2 separate regions of the Homo sapiens genome follow, and region 2 is linked to region 1. Evidence: promoter capture Hi-C in 16 types of primary human blood cells and fetal thymus (Javierre and others, 2016). All regions are on one chromosome and are shown on one strand. The core of a region is centred on a gene start or on the middle of the fragment in contact, and the rest is flanking DNA. Distances in the headings are between cores, read along the strand shown.

Region 1 (7,842 bases), core at 3,682-6,181:
GATTATGTTCTGTATAAGATGCCATCTTAAGCAGACTGGAGAAGCCCTTGCTGGCTTTAAAGAAGCAAGCTGCCATATTGTAAGACAGCCTACAGATAAACTAGGTAACAAGGAACTGCAGGGAGTTCCTAGGTGAGAGCAGCTCCCAACTCAGAGCCAAAGGTCAACAAGAAAACAGACCTCAGTCCTACAGTTAAAGATGAATTATGGCCGGGCATGAAGGCTCACACCTGTAATCCCAGCATTTTGGGAAGCCCAGGCGGGCGGGTCACTTGAGGTCAGGAGTTCGAGACCAGCCTGGCCAACATAGCGAAACTCCATCTCTACTAAAAATACAAAAAATTAGCCGGGCGTAGTGGCGGGCGCCTGTAGTCCCAGCTACTCAGGAGGCTGAGGCAGGAGAATGGCGTGAACCCAGGAGGCAGAGCTTGTGGTGAGCCGAGATCGCGCCACTGCACTCCAGCCTAGGCCACAGAGTGAGACTCCGTCTCAAAAAAAAAAAAAAAAAAAAAATTAGCCGGTCGTGGTGGCGCATGCCTGTAGTCCCAGCTACTCAGGAGGCTGAGGCAGGAGAATGGCTTGAACCCAGGAGGCAGAGGTTGCAGTAAGCTGAGACTGCACCACTGCAACTCCAGCTTAGGCAAGGGAGAAAGACTCCATCTCAAAAAAAAAAAAAAAGGAATTTTGCCAACCACATGAGGGAGCTTGCAAGTCAGTCTTTTTCCCCAGTTGACCCTTTGATGAGACACACCACAGCCCCAGCTGACACCTGGAATATATAGCTATGTGAGATCCTAAGGAGAGGACCCAGCTAAACTGTGCTCAGCTGTGAGAGATGTGTTGTTTTTGAGCCATTACGCTTGTGGTATTTTGTTATACAACAATAAAAAAACTAACACAAATACCTATGATAAAGCTTTTTCACTTTTTAATCAAGTATCACTCAAAATGTAATCAATAAAGACTGTAGGCCGGGCACAGTGGCTCACGCCTGTAATCCCAGCACTTTGGGAGGCCAATGCAGGAGGATTGCTTGAAGCCAGGAGTTCAAGATCAGCCTGGGCAACATGGCAAGACCCCCATCTCCACAAAAATAAGCCAGCACAGTGGCTCACACCTGTAATCTCAACATTTTGGGAGGCCGAGGTGTGCGGATAGCTTGAGCCCAGGAGTTCGACGAGACCAGCATAAGCAACATGGCGAAACCCCATCTCTACAAAAAATACAAAAATTACCCAGGTGTGGTGGTGCATGCCTGTAGTCCCAGCTACTCAGGAGGCTGAGGTGGGAGGATCACCTAAGCCTGGGAGGCAGAGGTTGCAGTGAGCCATGACTGCATCACTGCACTCCACCTGGGGTGACAGAACAAGACCCTGTCTCTTAAAGAAAATGAAAATTAAAAAAATTTTCCAGTCTGGACAGTATGGCGAAACCCTGTCTCCACTAAAAAATACCAAAAAAGTTAGCTGGGCATGGTGGCACATGTCTATAGTCCCAGCTACTCAGGAGGCCAAGGCAGGAAGATCACTTAAGCCTGGGAGGCAGAGGCTGCAGTGAGATCAGGCCACTGCACCCCTGCAGGGGGACAGAGCGAGACCCTGTTGCAAGATAAGAATTTTTTAAAACACTTTAAGCTTTTTTTTCAACAATTTTTGTGAGTGTATAGTAGGTGTATATATTTATTTGGGTATATATTTATATATATTTATATATTATTAGGTGTATATATTTATATATTTATATATATAAATATGTATATTTATTATGGAGTACATGAGATGTTTTGATATAGGCATGCAATGTAAATTAAGCACATCATGGAGCATGGGGTATCTATCCCCTCAAGCATTTATCCTTTGACTTATGGGGTATCCATCCCCTCAGGCATTTATCCTTTGAGTTACAAATAATCCAATTACACTCTGAGTTATTTTAAAATGTACAATTATTATTGACCATAGTCACCCTGTTGTACTATCAAATAGGTCTTATTCATTCTATTTTTTTTGTACCCATTAGCCATCCCCACCTCCCACCTACTTTTCCTTAATACTTACAAAAGGTAAAATGCACCTTCTGACATGGCCGAACTGTGCAAAGTGTTCTTTCAGCTGACCTGTGTGGCAGAAGAAAACATTAAAAGTAGTTACTATATTTTGGATTCTCTATCTTAGACTGTAGAAAGACAGGGTCACCAGATTTCTTGTGGACAGGAACTACTTTGCATTTCCTTAAAGGCTTAAGATTTAGGAAGCAGCTATGGTACTGACTATAAAGCCATAATGTACCAGACTTGGTGGTGAGATGGACAGAGAAGTTGTTGAGTTGGCTGCAGTCTCCATCCTCAGCAAATATCGAGTGTTTTCATACCAGTTACTGTGCTATGTGGACTATGATCCCTGTGAGCAGATCACAATGAAGAAAAAGACAAATTACAATCCAGTGTGTTTCCCGGTATACTGAAGATTTCCAAATAAAATCCCAACTTACTGGTCTTTCACAATTTAGTAAAATGTGTTGAGTTGCCCTCACCTACCCTTCCTGCCTTATTTCCCACTGCTAGCCCCTAGTTACTCTCTAGTACAACTAATTGAATTATCTTTATCTGTCCTGCGGGTTACCCTCTTTGCATATGTTGTTCTCTCCCCTCCATATGTTGGTAATCCTATCTCCCCCTGGCTAACTTGTAACACTATAACTATCCTTCAAGACCCAAACCAAGTACATCCACTGAGTATTACTTTATTGGGCTCCTATCACAGTACAAGACAATGTACCAGCCCTGTGAGACTTCAAAGATTTAGAGTATATAATCTTAAAGACTAAAAACTACACGATCTGTTTCTCTTCTGAACTACAGTGCTTGTACTTCACTGATTTACTTTTTATAATATCTATTTAGTTCTCCTAGTTCACCAAAACCTCACTGGTTCAACAATTGCCTATATTTGTTCTAAGTCTCTTCATCCCCACCACTAATTGTAAGCTCCCTCAGCATATAAACCACTATGTTTACAGTGACCAATAAACAGCAGGGCCTCAATATTGGCTAAATGAATAAGTAAAAGTCCACTAATCCTTCCAACAATCCACAGAGACTAAATTTTGAAGGGCTCTAATGGTTAAGTCAAACCAACTGGCAAGATCAAGGTCTCACAGAATATGATACTGGAGAACAAAATAATGTTAAACATATGTTTTATACCAGATAATTAAAGTCCTAGAAGACACTGATTTCAAAACAAACCAGCTCTGGAAGGTAACCCTCTTCCTAAATTGCCTAAAATGGTGAAGGAAAAACAGCTGCAAGCACCAAGAACAATGCCTACCACAGAATAGATACTCAAATAAATATTTGCTGAATCAATGGAACAACAAAGAGAAACTGTTTCGAAGCTGTACATAATGCTGACTCTTTTTAAGGGTTTTAAACTAGCCCTTTATTGTCTGGAAACTTGCATCCGCAAGATGCTAATGAAACTCCTCAGCCTTTCCATAAAGTTTCACAGGGACTACGGGAGACTTTACTGGGCTTGGTCTTCACCAACCACATGTTTAAAACACGGGGCACAAACCAACCTATTTCCCATTCTACTACTCACATCTGAGCCACTAAAAACTTAGAAGAAACTAAATCTTGCTCCATTTTGTTTCCAGGGGTTGACCTGAAACATGAATATCTACAAAAAGAGTGACCACGAATGTTTACATGTTGGTAAGCAAATATAAAAACCTCATCTCAAAACTGCAGCTGACAAAAATTGAAGGTGGTGAAAGATTTCAGAACTAATTATTCCAACCTTTATCTGTAGACTAGGCCTCTCCCGTAAGTTTCAATTTTAGTTACCGTGAAAATAACTATCATTTGCTGAGTACTTACACTGTATCTAACACAAGTCTAAGAAGTTTGCATATAAACTCAATCCTCTCAACAATCCTATGAGTTGGGTATTATTGACTCCATTTTATCGATGAGTAAACTGAGGCCCAGTTGTGAGCCCTTTTCCCATACTAACTTCAGTTATTCAAGTGATAACAACGATTAAATGGCCAAGTTGGAATTCTAACCCCAACGGTCTAGCTTCGGAGTCCACTTCTCAGCCACAATGATATACAACCTTTGTCCAATTGCCTGACGGAAACCTCACAAGTTTCTCAAAGTCAACACATTCAAACTTTACTCATCTTCTCTTGGCCTGCTCCTAACTTCTAAACAAACAATTCACCAATGCTAAAAACCCAGAAATCATTTCTCCCTTTCCTTTATTCCGTACACTTCTCCCACTTAAGCCATCACGAAACGGCATCTAATTTGCTTTTAAAACATTAATGCATCTGACCACCATCCTTCTACCATCGCCCTAATTCAGGTCCTCACGTTTTAAGTAAATTAATGAAATTGCCTTTTAGCTCCTCTGCACGCCTACAATCTTGCCACCTTGAATCCATCCTCCACACTACAGTCAAAATTATCCCTTCTAAATTGTAAATCTTGGTTACCAAGTAATAAATCTTTACACCAAATCACTCCTAAAGGCAAGAGCCGGTGCATTCGTGACCCCAAAAGCTCAAGGGACATCCCTAAACGGTTAACTGCAAACAAAATTTCTTTCTGCTCACTTGCATGCTCAGGAGCAGTCTCCTAATTCAGCCACCACGCTGACTTAAGTACCCTGCAAAAAGCAGAAGCTTTGAGGATCACTTGGACCTAAAAATTCCACTACTCCCACATCTCCATCACTCACTCGACGCCGCAGTCCAAGGAATTCTTCTCACAAAAGCAACCGGCTGATTGATACTTCTACGCAGCGCCGCAGCACCTCTCGCTGCTGAGGCCGCCATCTTCAGACTAAAGCACCTTCTCGAGCCGAGGTCGCGGCCCCGGAAAAAATTTCCGGATCCGGAACACGAGAGAATCTGCTTCCGGATCAGAGGGTATAGGCCGCGAGATGGGGAAGATGGCAGCGGCCGTGGGCTCTGTGGCGACTCTGGCGACTGAGCCCGGGGAGGACGCCTTTCGGAAACTTTTCCGCTTCTACCGTCAGAGCCGGCCCGGGACCGCAGACCTGGAAGGGGTCATCGACTTCTCGGCGGCCCACGCAGCCCGTGGCAAGGGTCCTGGTGCCCAAAAGGTACAGAGAGAGGAGTGGCGCGCGTCTCTCCATCGCTTTGCCCCGCGTCTTGGAGGGACTTACGTGTCTTCTTCGCCTCTTTTCACCTCCAGACCGATTGTTATTGAACGATTCCTGACCTCCTTTGGCTGCAGAGTCGAACTCCCCACTAACCGTCACACTTAGCAATAAAGCGTTGAGATGCCTGTTTCTTTAGGCGGCCATTCCTGGCGGGGGCGCTCAGTCAAAAGAGCCTGGGAATCCGTGTTTATTTCTTACTGTAACTGTCTCCTCACATTTCTGTTTGGGTTTTTGTAAAACCCCATAGAACGTCTTTGTAGACGGTAGGGTAGACTTCTGCAGCTTAAAAAAAACCACTCCCGAGGAATCCCAGAACTGACAGGGATGCGGCGCTGTTTGTTAAGCCACTGTGCGTAAAACTAGTCCCTGTCTTCTCCTCTGGCTCTTTTAGAAGGAGGTCATTGAAGGATTCTGAGAATCCCTCCGTGTTGAAAATAAATGGCAAACAAGTATATATGGAATACAGGCACCGTTCTCTCTCTCAGCTTTTCCCCATGGAGATTAAGAAGGGGAACACAGTCCGGGAGCGGTGGCTCAAGCCTGTAATCCCGCACTTCGGAGGCCGAGGCGGGTGGATCGCTTGAACCCAGGGGTTCGAGACCAGCCTGGGGCATGGCAAGACCCCCGTTTCCGCCAAAAATACAAAAAATTAGCCAGTCTCATAACCTGTTCTCAAGTAAATAGATTTTTTAAAAATTATTTTTTTAAGGGAACATAACAGGCAAGAGGGAAAACGGGGAACCAAAACTGTAGTCCAATTTATATTTTCTTTCTTTACAATCCACTTTAACGTTGAGGATATGCAGTCCCTTAATTTGCTCTTGGTGTTGTCCACAGATGTCTAGATGAGGCATTCTTTCCAAGCTTCCTAACAGCTCTGATAAAATTGGGATGCTACAGTATTAAGTGTTAATGATTGCATACTTGAGCTCAGCTTTTCAGCACCTTCATTTGTTAGGGAAAAAAAGTGGTCTTAGAGTTGTCAAAATACAGAAAGTCCACACCCCAATAATAATATACTTTTTCTCTCCAGAGCGCTTCAGACTCTCATTCAGCTCCTTTTACCTACATTTTACCATAATATGTACATGCTTTTTAGAATGTCAGCCATCAGGGAATGAGCCATTATGTGTCTAGTACAGGACCTAAAACAGTACTAAGTACAGTATGTGTTGAGTACATGAAAGCTTGGGTGTTTAGTTCCTCAGCTCAAAGCAGATTAAAGTAGTAATTAAGAGAAGTTACTATTACAAGCCAGCTGATGAGACTGGTGGGGAAAGTGGTGGTTAACAGTCTGGCAAGGGAGGAAAGAGAAAACCTTTTATAAAAGCTCAGTGGTGTCGTTCAGTTTAGCATATGATAGAATAGGTCCACTAACATCACCTCTGAGAGTGTGTTGAATTATAGTGCAGTATTAAGTATGGCCTATTAAAGAAATCATGACAAAATGCTTAAAAGTGTTTTACCAGTGCCTAGGTACCTGGAAAACTCAGCTGATAGTACTGTCAGAGGGTTTCATATAGCCCTTTTATTATAGAGACTGGTTATACATCAGCAAACTTTTGGTATTTTGTCCAGGAATCTCCACACTTGGAGAAGTTGATAAGATAAAAGATCATTCTCTTTCAAAGAGAATGTTTCATATATATATATATGTGTGTGTGTATATATGTGTGTGTATATATAATATATATACTTTTTTTTACTGAGACAGCGTCTCACTGTGTCACCCAGGCTGAAGTGCAGTGGCGTGATCTTGGCTCACTGCAACCTCCATCTCCTAGGTTCAAATGATTCTTCTGCTTCAGCCTCCCAAGTAGCTGGGACTACAGGCACGCGCCACCATGCCTGGCTAATTTTTGTATTTTTAGTAGAGACGGGGTTTCGCCATGTTGGCCAGTCTGGACCCAAACTCCTGACCTCAGGTGATCTACCTGCCTTGGCTTCCCAAAGTGTTGGAATTACAGGTGTGAGCCACCGCTCGGCCTGTTTCATATATTTTAAGGCAAGGCAGACCCTAGGTTTACTATTCAGGGAAGAATAAAGGTTTTTTCCTTTAATGTTTTGACTTCAATGACTGCATAGTGGGTCTCTTAACCAATGTAATGAGCCATCCATTAGATACTCACATACAAAGAAAACTTCAGCCCCTGAAATACTAAATTCATTTCTAAGTAATTAACAGAAGCAGAAGTTGTAGCGTCAGTTGGACATTTCATCTAGAAGAGGGCAAACAGGATTTTTTAGCTTTTACTTTTAGCAGACAGGATTCCCAGTGTCTCACTGCAACATTTTTTCTGTCTGTTTACAGCACTCTCTTTTCATTCTCTTTTTTTTTTTTTTTTTTTTTCTTAGACGGAGTCTTGCTCTGTTCCTAGGCTGGAGTACAGTGGCACAATCTCAGCTCACTGCAACTTTCACCTCCCAGGTTGAAGCAATTCTGGTGCCCCAGCCTCTCGTAGCTGGGATTTCAGGCGCCCGCCACTACACCCAACTAATTTTTGTATTTTTAGTAGAGACGGGGTTTCACCATGTTGGCCAGGTTGGTCTCGGACTCCTGACCTCGTGATCCGCCTGCCTCAGCCTCCCAAAGTGCTGGGATTACAGGCGTGAGCCACTGCGACCGGCCTTCTCTTTTCATTTTCTCACC
Region 2 (7,842 bases), core at 1,576-4,075, 180 kb after region 1:
TGGTCTTCTTGCATAAATATTAACTGCTATTTTATATGATACTCAAGTCAAAGTGGGTAACTATGTTGTCTGTTAAGATTCAGTTTCACTTTAAGAGCAAAGGATAACTATTTTCTAACGTGTAAATGCCAGGGCTTACTGATTTGTCTACATTTATTTTACTGCTTTTATTTTCCTGTTATTCTCTTTGAAATTAGTAAGTTAAACCATAAGAAATTTCCTGCTTTAAGGTCAAAAATGGTAGCATGTTGGCAGTTTGATGGTTCAGCCTAGCAATTTTAAAGGATAACAGGCCACTTTATTTTTATATATTTATTTATTTATTTGAGATGGAGTCTCTGTCACCCAGGCTGGAGTGCAATGGCATAATCTCGGCTCACTGCAAGCTCCGCCTCCTGGGTTCATGCCATTCTCTCGCCTCAGCCTCCCAGGTAGCTGGGACTACAGGCGCCCACCACCACGCCCGGCTAATTTTGTTTTTGCATTTTTAGTAGAGACGGGGTTTCACCGTGTTAGCCAGGATGGTCTCGATCTCCTGACCTTGTGATCCGCCCGCTTCAGCCTCCCAAAGTGCTGGGATTACAGGCGTGAGCCACCATGCCCAGCCCTCCTTTTTAAATTTTTTTAATTTTTCTTTTTTTTTTTCGAGACGGAGTTTCACTCTTATTGCCCAGGGCAGAGTGCAATGGCGCAGTCTCGCTCACGGCAACCTCTACCTCCCAGGTTCAAGCAATTCTCCTGCCTCAGCCTCCTGAGTAGCTGGGATTACAGGCATGCACCACCACACCTGGCTAATTTTGTATTTTTGGTAGAGATGGGATTTCTCCATTTGGTCAGGCTACTCTCAAACTCCCAACCTCAGGTGGTCCGCCTGTCTGGGCCTCCCAAAGTGCTGGGATTACAGGCGTGAGCCACCGTGCCTGGCTCATTTTTCGTAAGTGACAGAGTCTCACACTATGTTACCCAGGCTGGAGTGCAGTGGCTGTTTACAGGTGCAGTCATAGCTCACTACAGCCCCAAACTCCTGACTCAAGAGATCCTCCTGCCTCAGCCCCCCAAGTAGCCAGAATCACACCACTGTGCCTGGCTTTCCTTTTTTTAAAAATTGATACATAATATTTATGGGGTACATATGATATTTTGATAGATGCATACGGTATCAAATATTCTGATCAAATCAGAGTATTTTGGATATGTGTCACCGCAAACATTATCATTTCTGTGTGTTTAGAACATTTCAGCTCTTCTAGCTATTTTGAAATACACGGTAAACTATTGTTAACTGTAGTCATCCTGTGCTATCAAAAGCTATAATTTATTCCTCCTATCTAACTATATGTTTGTACCCATTAACCAACCTCTCTTCAATCCCCCTTTCCCTACCATTCCCAGCCTCTGGTAACCACTGTTCTACTCTCTACCTCCATGAGATCAACTTTTTTAGCTCCCACATGAGTCAGAACATGCGATACGTGTCTTTCCGTGCCTGGCTCATTTCACTTAACATCATGACCTTCAGTCCCATCCATCTTGTGCAAATGACAGCATTTCATTCTTTTCATGGCTGGATAGTATTCCGTTGTGTGCATCTGCCACATTTTCTTTATCCATTCATCCGCTGATACTTAGAATGATTCCGTATTTGGCTCTTGTGAATAGTGCTGTAGTAAACATAGCTGTGCACACATCCCTTTGATACACTGATTTCCTTTTATTTGGATAAACAGCAGTAGTGGGATTGCTGGATTGTATGGTAGTTCCATTTTTAGTTTGAAAAAACTTTTTTTTTTTTTTTTAACAGAGGCTAGTTAATTTGTGATTAGATAGCTAAAAGGTTTGTGATTTTTTTTTAAAGGTGGTGGCTGGGCAGCATGGTGGCTCACTCCTGTAATCCCATGCCACAATCAAGGTTAGAATATTTTCATCGTCCCTCCTGGAAGTTCCCTTCTGCCCCTTTGCTATCAGCCGCCTTCCCATACTTTCTGGCAACCATGAATCTGTTTTCTGTCATTACAGTATGTCTTTTTAGAGTTTCATACAAACGAATTCATACAGTGTGCAGTCTCATGTCTGGCTTATTTCAATGAACATTATATTTTGAGATTCATCAGCATTGTTGCCTTAGCAATCATTTGTTCCTTTTCATATATTTCCTTTCTCTCCTCATGTTTCTTCTACCTTTTTGAACATATAGATCATATTTATAATGGCCTTTAACATCCATATCTGCTAATACTCCGTTATTTTTGGTCGGTTTTTATTGACTGACTTTTCCCCTGGTTGTACGTCATATTTTCCTGTTTCTTTGAATGCCTGGAATTTTAAAATTATATGTTGGACATTAATTTTACATTGCTAGTTTCTATATCTTGTTGTTTTCCTTTAGGTAATGTTGGACTTTGTTCTTGGAATCAGTAGGATCCTTTCAAAGCTTGCTTTTAAGGTTAGGGTGGGTTCAGACCAATTTTTAGTCTAGGGTTCATTTATCTCCACTACTAAGGTGATAGGAGTAGAGTCCCCTTCTGAGGACTCTGTTAGATAACCCACATATTATAAGATCTTTATATTTTGGTGGACAAAAATACAAACTATTCCCAGCTCCATGTGAGTGCAGGAATTGTTTGGCCTATTGCTTTCTGATGGATCTTTTCCCCAGCCTCTGCTAGTTTCTTTTCATGCGTATAGAAATCAGTACCCTTCCCAAAGTTCAAAGGGACCCTTCAGCAGATCTCTAAAGCTCTCTCATCGCACCCCACCTCCCTGCTCCTGTACACTGCCCAACAAATTCTAGCCCCCGCAGCCTCCCCAGCTCTGATCTCAACTGACCACTCTCCACTCCAATCTCAGATGTCCTCAGCTGGCAAGACTGGGCCCTCCTTCCCTGTGCAGCAGCCTGCAACCTGCCTTCAGGCAGCACAGTCTGGCATTCCCCGTGGTTCAATGTCTAAAAGTCATTGTTTATGTACTTTGTCCAGTTTCCTATTGTTTACAGCAGGAAGATAAATCCAGCCTCTAGTACTCCATGGCCAGAAGAAGTCTCATCTTCTAAATGTAAATTAAGCATGTATTGATACTTCTAGGGGGAAGTTAGGGGACTTGGCTCATCAGTTCCCAACATACTTAAATATAACACACTTTAATGTCTGCTTTCTTCTTTGTAACTTAAGCGATGACATAAATGATGCTCTTCAGTGCTCACACTAGGCTAATCTAAGCTTGAGTGTTTTTCTGTGATCAACTTGAAATTATCTACATAAAGAGTATTAATTTTGACTTATTTGTGGCCAACTTATATAGAGTAGCTTCCCATGAATGATGGATATGTTAGTATTCTGATTCTAAGGACATTGTTAGCTATCTGTATGTCTGGTTAATTTGTCATAAGAACTTATGTCATGTATCATGCTTGGACTTTTAAAAATATGAACTTGCTGATTTTATAATCTATATATGAAAATTACTGCAGCCTTTTCTATTCATGAGTATTCATGGTTGAGAAGATTCTAAAACAGTTCTTAGCCCTTTCCAAGCAGATCTTTTAAATTTATTGCTTTGCTCTGTATAACAGAACAGTTGTTTGGATATCTTTTCAAAGATTGACTTACCATAATGTCAAAACCTGCCCAAATATTTAGTCAGTTGGCAATTGCAGACAGAAACGTGTGTTTTAATCTATTTGTGTTTTAGGGAAGATGAGCAAAATAGGATTAAAGATACGATTTTATACTATTACAGATATGTTACTGTTGTCTGGTAAGAATTTTAAGGAAACAGGCTAGGCGCGGTGGCTCATGTCTGTAATCCCAGCACTTTGGGAGGCCAAGGTGGGTAGATCACTTGAGGTTAGGTGTTCGAGACCAGCCTGGCCAACATGGCGAAACCCTGTCTCTACTAAAAATACAAAAGTTAGCTGGGCGTGGTGATGTGCACCCGTAACCCCAGCTATCAGGAAGCTGAGACAGGAGAATCGCTTGAACCCGGGAAGCAGAGATTGCAGTGAGCCAAGATCGTGCCGTTGCACTCCAGCCTGGGCGACAGAGTGAGACACCGTCTCAAAAAAAAAAGAAAGAAAAAGAAAAAAAGAATTGTAAGGAAACAACAAAATGAAACTCAGAAGATGAAAATTTGGGGGTCTAAAGGCTTCATCTCTGGTCTTATGTGTAAAATTTATTTGCAGCACAGTTAATTAGAATGAATCTTAAAGTTAGAAGATGTAAATTCTAGTTGCAGCTATGCCACTTGCTACTTGTAATGTGCCACACACTATTGTGCAACTGTAGGCATGTCACTACCTTGGTGAGAGTCTCCCCACCTATAATATGAAGATAATCATAAATATCCTGCCTACTGTCAAGGGATTTGTGGAGTGCTCAGTGAGGGGGTATGGCTGAAATTCTTTGAGGATGCTAACGCTCCATTAAACGTTTTTTACATTATTATAACTTCTGCTGTTAACAGGTAGAATGACAGAATACAAAATGAGACATTTTACATTTATATTCCATATGGTTTACTCTGTAAAATATTTTATGGTGAAATGGAAAAAAACGAAACAGAACTGATTAGATAGAATGGAGATAGAGGAGATTTACTGTCTTTTTTCCATTCCTTTTTACTTAGGATTATTTTGTTTTCTCTCACCGTGACTTTCCAGGTAAAGAGTGTGTACAACAGTTAGCTGAAAACACCAGGTATTTCAGGAGACGCCTGAAAGAGATGGGCTTCATCATCTATGGAAATGAAGACTCTCCAGTAGTGCCTTTGATGCTCTACATGCCTGCCAAAATTGGGTACGTTTTGTTGCAGATCACAGACCAGTCTGTCCTTATCCTTATCTGTGATGTGAGACCAGGGCTTATGTATTTTGTTAGGGAAAATGGTCTTGTCCTTACTGTGTTAACCTTCATTTGGTACATATGCCATAGATCAAATAGTGGATTCCAAATTGTAAAGTATGTTAATTTGTTCTTCTTTCATTAAACATTTGAGTTTCATGTACTCTCTAGGGGCCTGGGATAGATCAGTGAATAAAATACAAACATCTCTGTCCTTGTGGAGCTTACAGTCTAGTAGGGGGCAACAGTCAGACAGACATAATAAACAAATGAACTGTGTACGATGTTAGAAGGTGTCAAGTGCTATGGAAAAAAATAGAGCAGGACCTATATGGGGAGTTGAGAGTGCCCTGTGGGCGGGCCGATAACACTATTAAATAGGGTGGTCAGGGTAAGGAAGCCTCCTTGGGAAGGAAAATGACATCTGAGCAAAGATTTGAAGGAGCTGACAGCCACTGGAGAAAGAAGCATCTGTGCAAAGGCCACAGTACAGAAGCGAGCTTGCTTAGCTGACGGAAGAGTAGCAAAGAGGTCCCTGGAATTGGAGCACCGTGCCCCAGGGCGAGCAGTGGGCCATGAGGTCAGAGAGGTTTTATCAGAGTGTGTTATTGGATACTTACCAGGTGTGCAGATTACACCAGCTTCTTTGGTTTGTATGAGGCATACATAATGGAAAGCCCTGCCCTAGGATAGCTTTCAATGTATTTGAGAAGTCCAGATGTATAATGAAACCAGAAGACATTTGAAAAGCAAATGAACAGTAATTATACTGAACAAATTTTATTATATGCAAAGTGGCCCTGAAGATGTAGAATAAAGGAGTGACCTGCTTAGTATAGGCTCAGTAAGAAAGGCACATCTTGTTGGATGGGTGAGTTTTGAGCTGGATCTTAAAGCATTTCTCCAGTTTGATTGAACTCATTGAAGGAGCAATTTTTGTAAATTTTTGAATCCCCAGTGTCCACCACAGTCTCCGACACTCAGTAAATGTTTACTGAAATGAATATGGGAGAGGAAATTAAATCAGGGAACCTGGAAGTAATGTGATTCAAAGAGAATGAAAGGGAAGTAAGGAAAAGGTGCTCCCTGAGAGAAAAAGAAGAATTTGGGTTTCAACATGAAGTCATATGGGCAGTTGGTATTATGGCTTCAGAGGGGATGGGGAAGGATTTTCTTCATTCTTCTTTAAGTGGAATTCTCATAAACAAACATGAAGAGTTATCAGATCCAAAGGACTCAGTCTAGAGCTCTCTTTAAAGAAGGCTGTGTCTCCTTTATTCTACATAGGTGCAACTGACTGTGTACACTTTAATTAGGAAAGATTTAGAGAAGGTACAGGACCCAAAAGGGCACAAAAAAGCAATAACTACTAAATATAAGGAAAACAACTCTGTATACAGCATGTATAAAGAAAAGCAAGGTATATTTGGGGAGATAAAAGTTGTAAAGGCATTAAGATGTGTGTTTGTTGAGAAAAAATAAATTTGTGCATTTAAGAAGTTAAAAAAAAAAGATTTAGAGAAGGTAAAGAATTAGAATAAGGCACTAGACAGTTTGGGAGCATGTGCTGAAGATACAGGGCACCCAGGTTCATGCTGACACAAAGGAGGTATGTTGAGGAAGATGTACTGGTACTACAGAGAGTGGGAAAAGGCTGTGAAAAGACTGGCATTAATGTAATGCCAAATGTGCAGGATCTGTATAGCCCAGGCTGGAGTGCAATGGCGTGATCTCGGCTTACTGCAACCTCCACCTCCCAGGTTCAAGCAAATCTTGTGCTTCCGCCTCCCCAGTAGCTGGGATTACAGATGTGTGCCACCACACCTGGCTAATTTTTGTATTTTTTAGTGGAGATGGGGTCTAACCATGTTGGCCAGGCTGGTCTCCAACTCCTGACCTCAGGTGATCTGCCCGCCTCGGCCTCCCAAAGTGCTGGGATTACAGGCACGAGCCACTGGCCCGGCCACATTTTTTTATTCTCAAACAAATGCTGTAAACAGCTTAAAGGAAAAGTTGAAACATAAGGGAGGTCAATAAGAGGAAAAGACAAAAAGCAACATAATTTGGGCCAGGCACAGTGGCTCACACCTGTAATCCCACTTTGGGAGGCCGAGGTGGGTGGATCACAAGGTCAGGAGATCGAGACCATCCTGGCCAACATGGTGAAACCCCGTCTCTACTAAAAATACGAAAATCATCTGGGTGTGGTGGTGCACACCTGTAATCCCAGCTGCTCGGGAGGCTGAGGCAGGAGAATTGCTAGAATCTGGGAGGTGGAGGTTATGGTGAGCCAAGATCGTGCCACTGCACTGCAGCCTGGCGACAAAGCGAGAGACTCAAAAAAAAACCCACATAATTTAGTAGACAAAATTAACTAAAAGTTAGAATGTGTTATTTAGACAAGATACAGATGTGGAGTAAGGCCACAGGGCCTCCAATTTGGCTTACGATAGGGGTGGGGGATTGTTAAATACGAATTGTGTGGTCTGAGTAATCAGCTGAAGCCAGCGGGTGAACTGGCCTGACAGACACCAAAGGAAGCCCTGAATTCTGAAGCAGTGTTGTTCCCAAGACAATTAAAGAAACGTGTGATCTGGAGAGCTCATGCCAGTCAGCCATTCTGCTAGCAGAAAAGATGTGCCGTGTTACAGCAGATCCCCCACAGCTGCAGAATCCTCAGAATTTGCGGATTAATGTTAAACTGCCAAGCTTAACATTTCAAGGACCAGATTTTAATTAAATACAGGTTCATTTTGAAGCCTCTGAACCACTATTACATATCAGGGACACTTTTTTTTTTTTTTGAGACAGAGCCTTGCTCTGTTGCTCAGGCTGGAGTACAGTCGTGTGATCTTGCCTTACTACAGCTTCTGCCTCCAAGCTTCGAGAGATTCTCATGCCTCAGCCTCCTGAGTAGCTGGGACTACAGGTGCATGCCACCACACATAGCTAATTTTTTGTATTTTTGGTAGAGACGGGATTTCACCATGTTGCCCAGGCTGGTTAT

What was found. Contacts are between HindIII fragments. The CHiCAGO score rates a contact against its expected background, and 5 or more counts as called.
Region 2: a fragment that was not itself captured here is called in contact with the fragment with the promoter of ALKBH1 in region 1 in 3 of 17 cell types (monocytes, naive CD8 T cells and naive B cells); the score reaches 8.7 in monocytes.

The regions. Positions count from the first base shown.
Region 1 is chr14:77,705,112-77,712,953 of GRCh38, reverse strand. It overlaps ALKBH1 (alkB homolog 1, histone H2A dioxygenase), which reads left to right and starts at 4,931. Exons shown (of 6, transcript NM_006020.3): 1 at 4,931-5,132. The coding sequence starts at 4,950. It overlaps SLIRP (SRA stem-loop interacting RNA binding protein), which reads right to left and starts at 4,851. Exons shown (of 4, transcript NM_031210.6): 1 at 4,746-4,851; 2 at 2,058-2,116. The coding sequence starts at 4,842. RefSeq lists an enhancer at 4,968-5,297. The HindIII fragment of the contact is 1,367 bases long and covers 4,692-6,058 here.
Region 2 is chr14:77,518,394-77,526,235 of GRCh38, reverse strand. It overlaps SPTLC2 (serine palmitoyltransferase long chain base subunit 2), which reads left to right. Exons shown (of 12, transcript NM_004863.4): 10 at 4,655-4,790. Among named protein-coding and RNA genes, the nearest start is that of ISM2, 23 kb to the right of the region's middle. The HindIII fragment of the contact is 784 bases long and covers 2,434-3,217 here.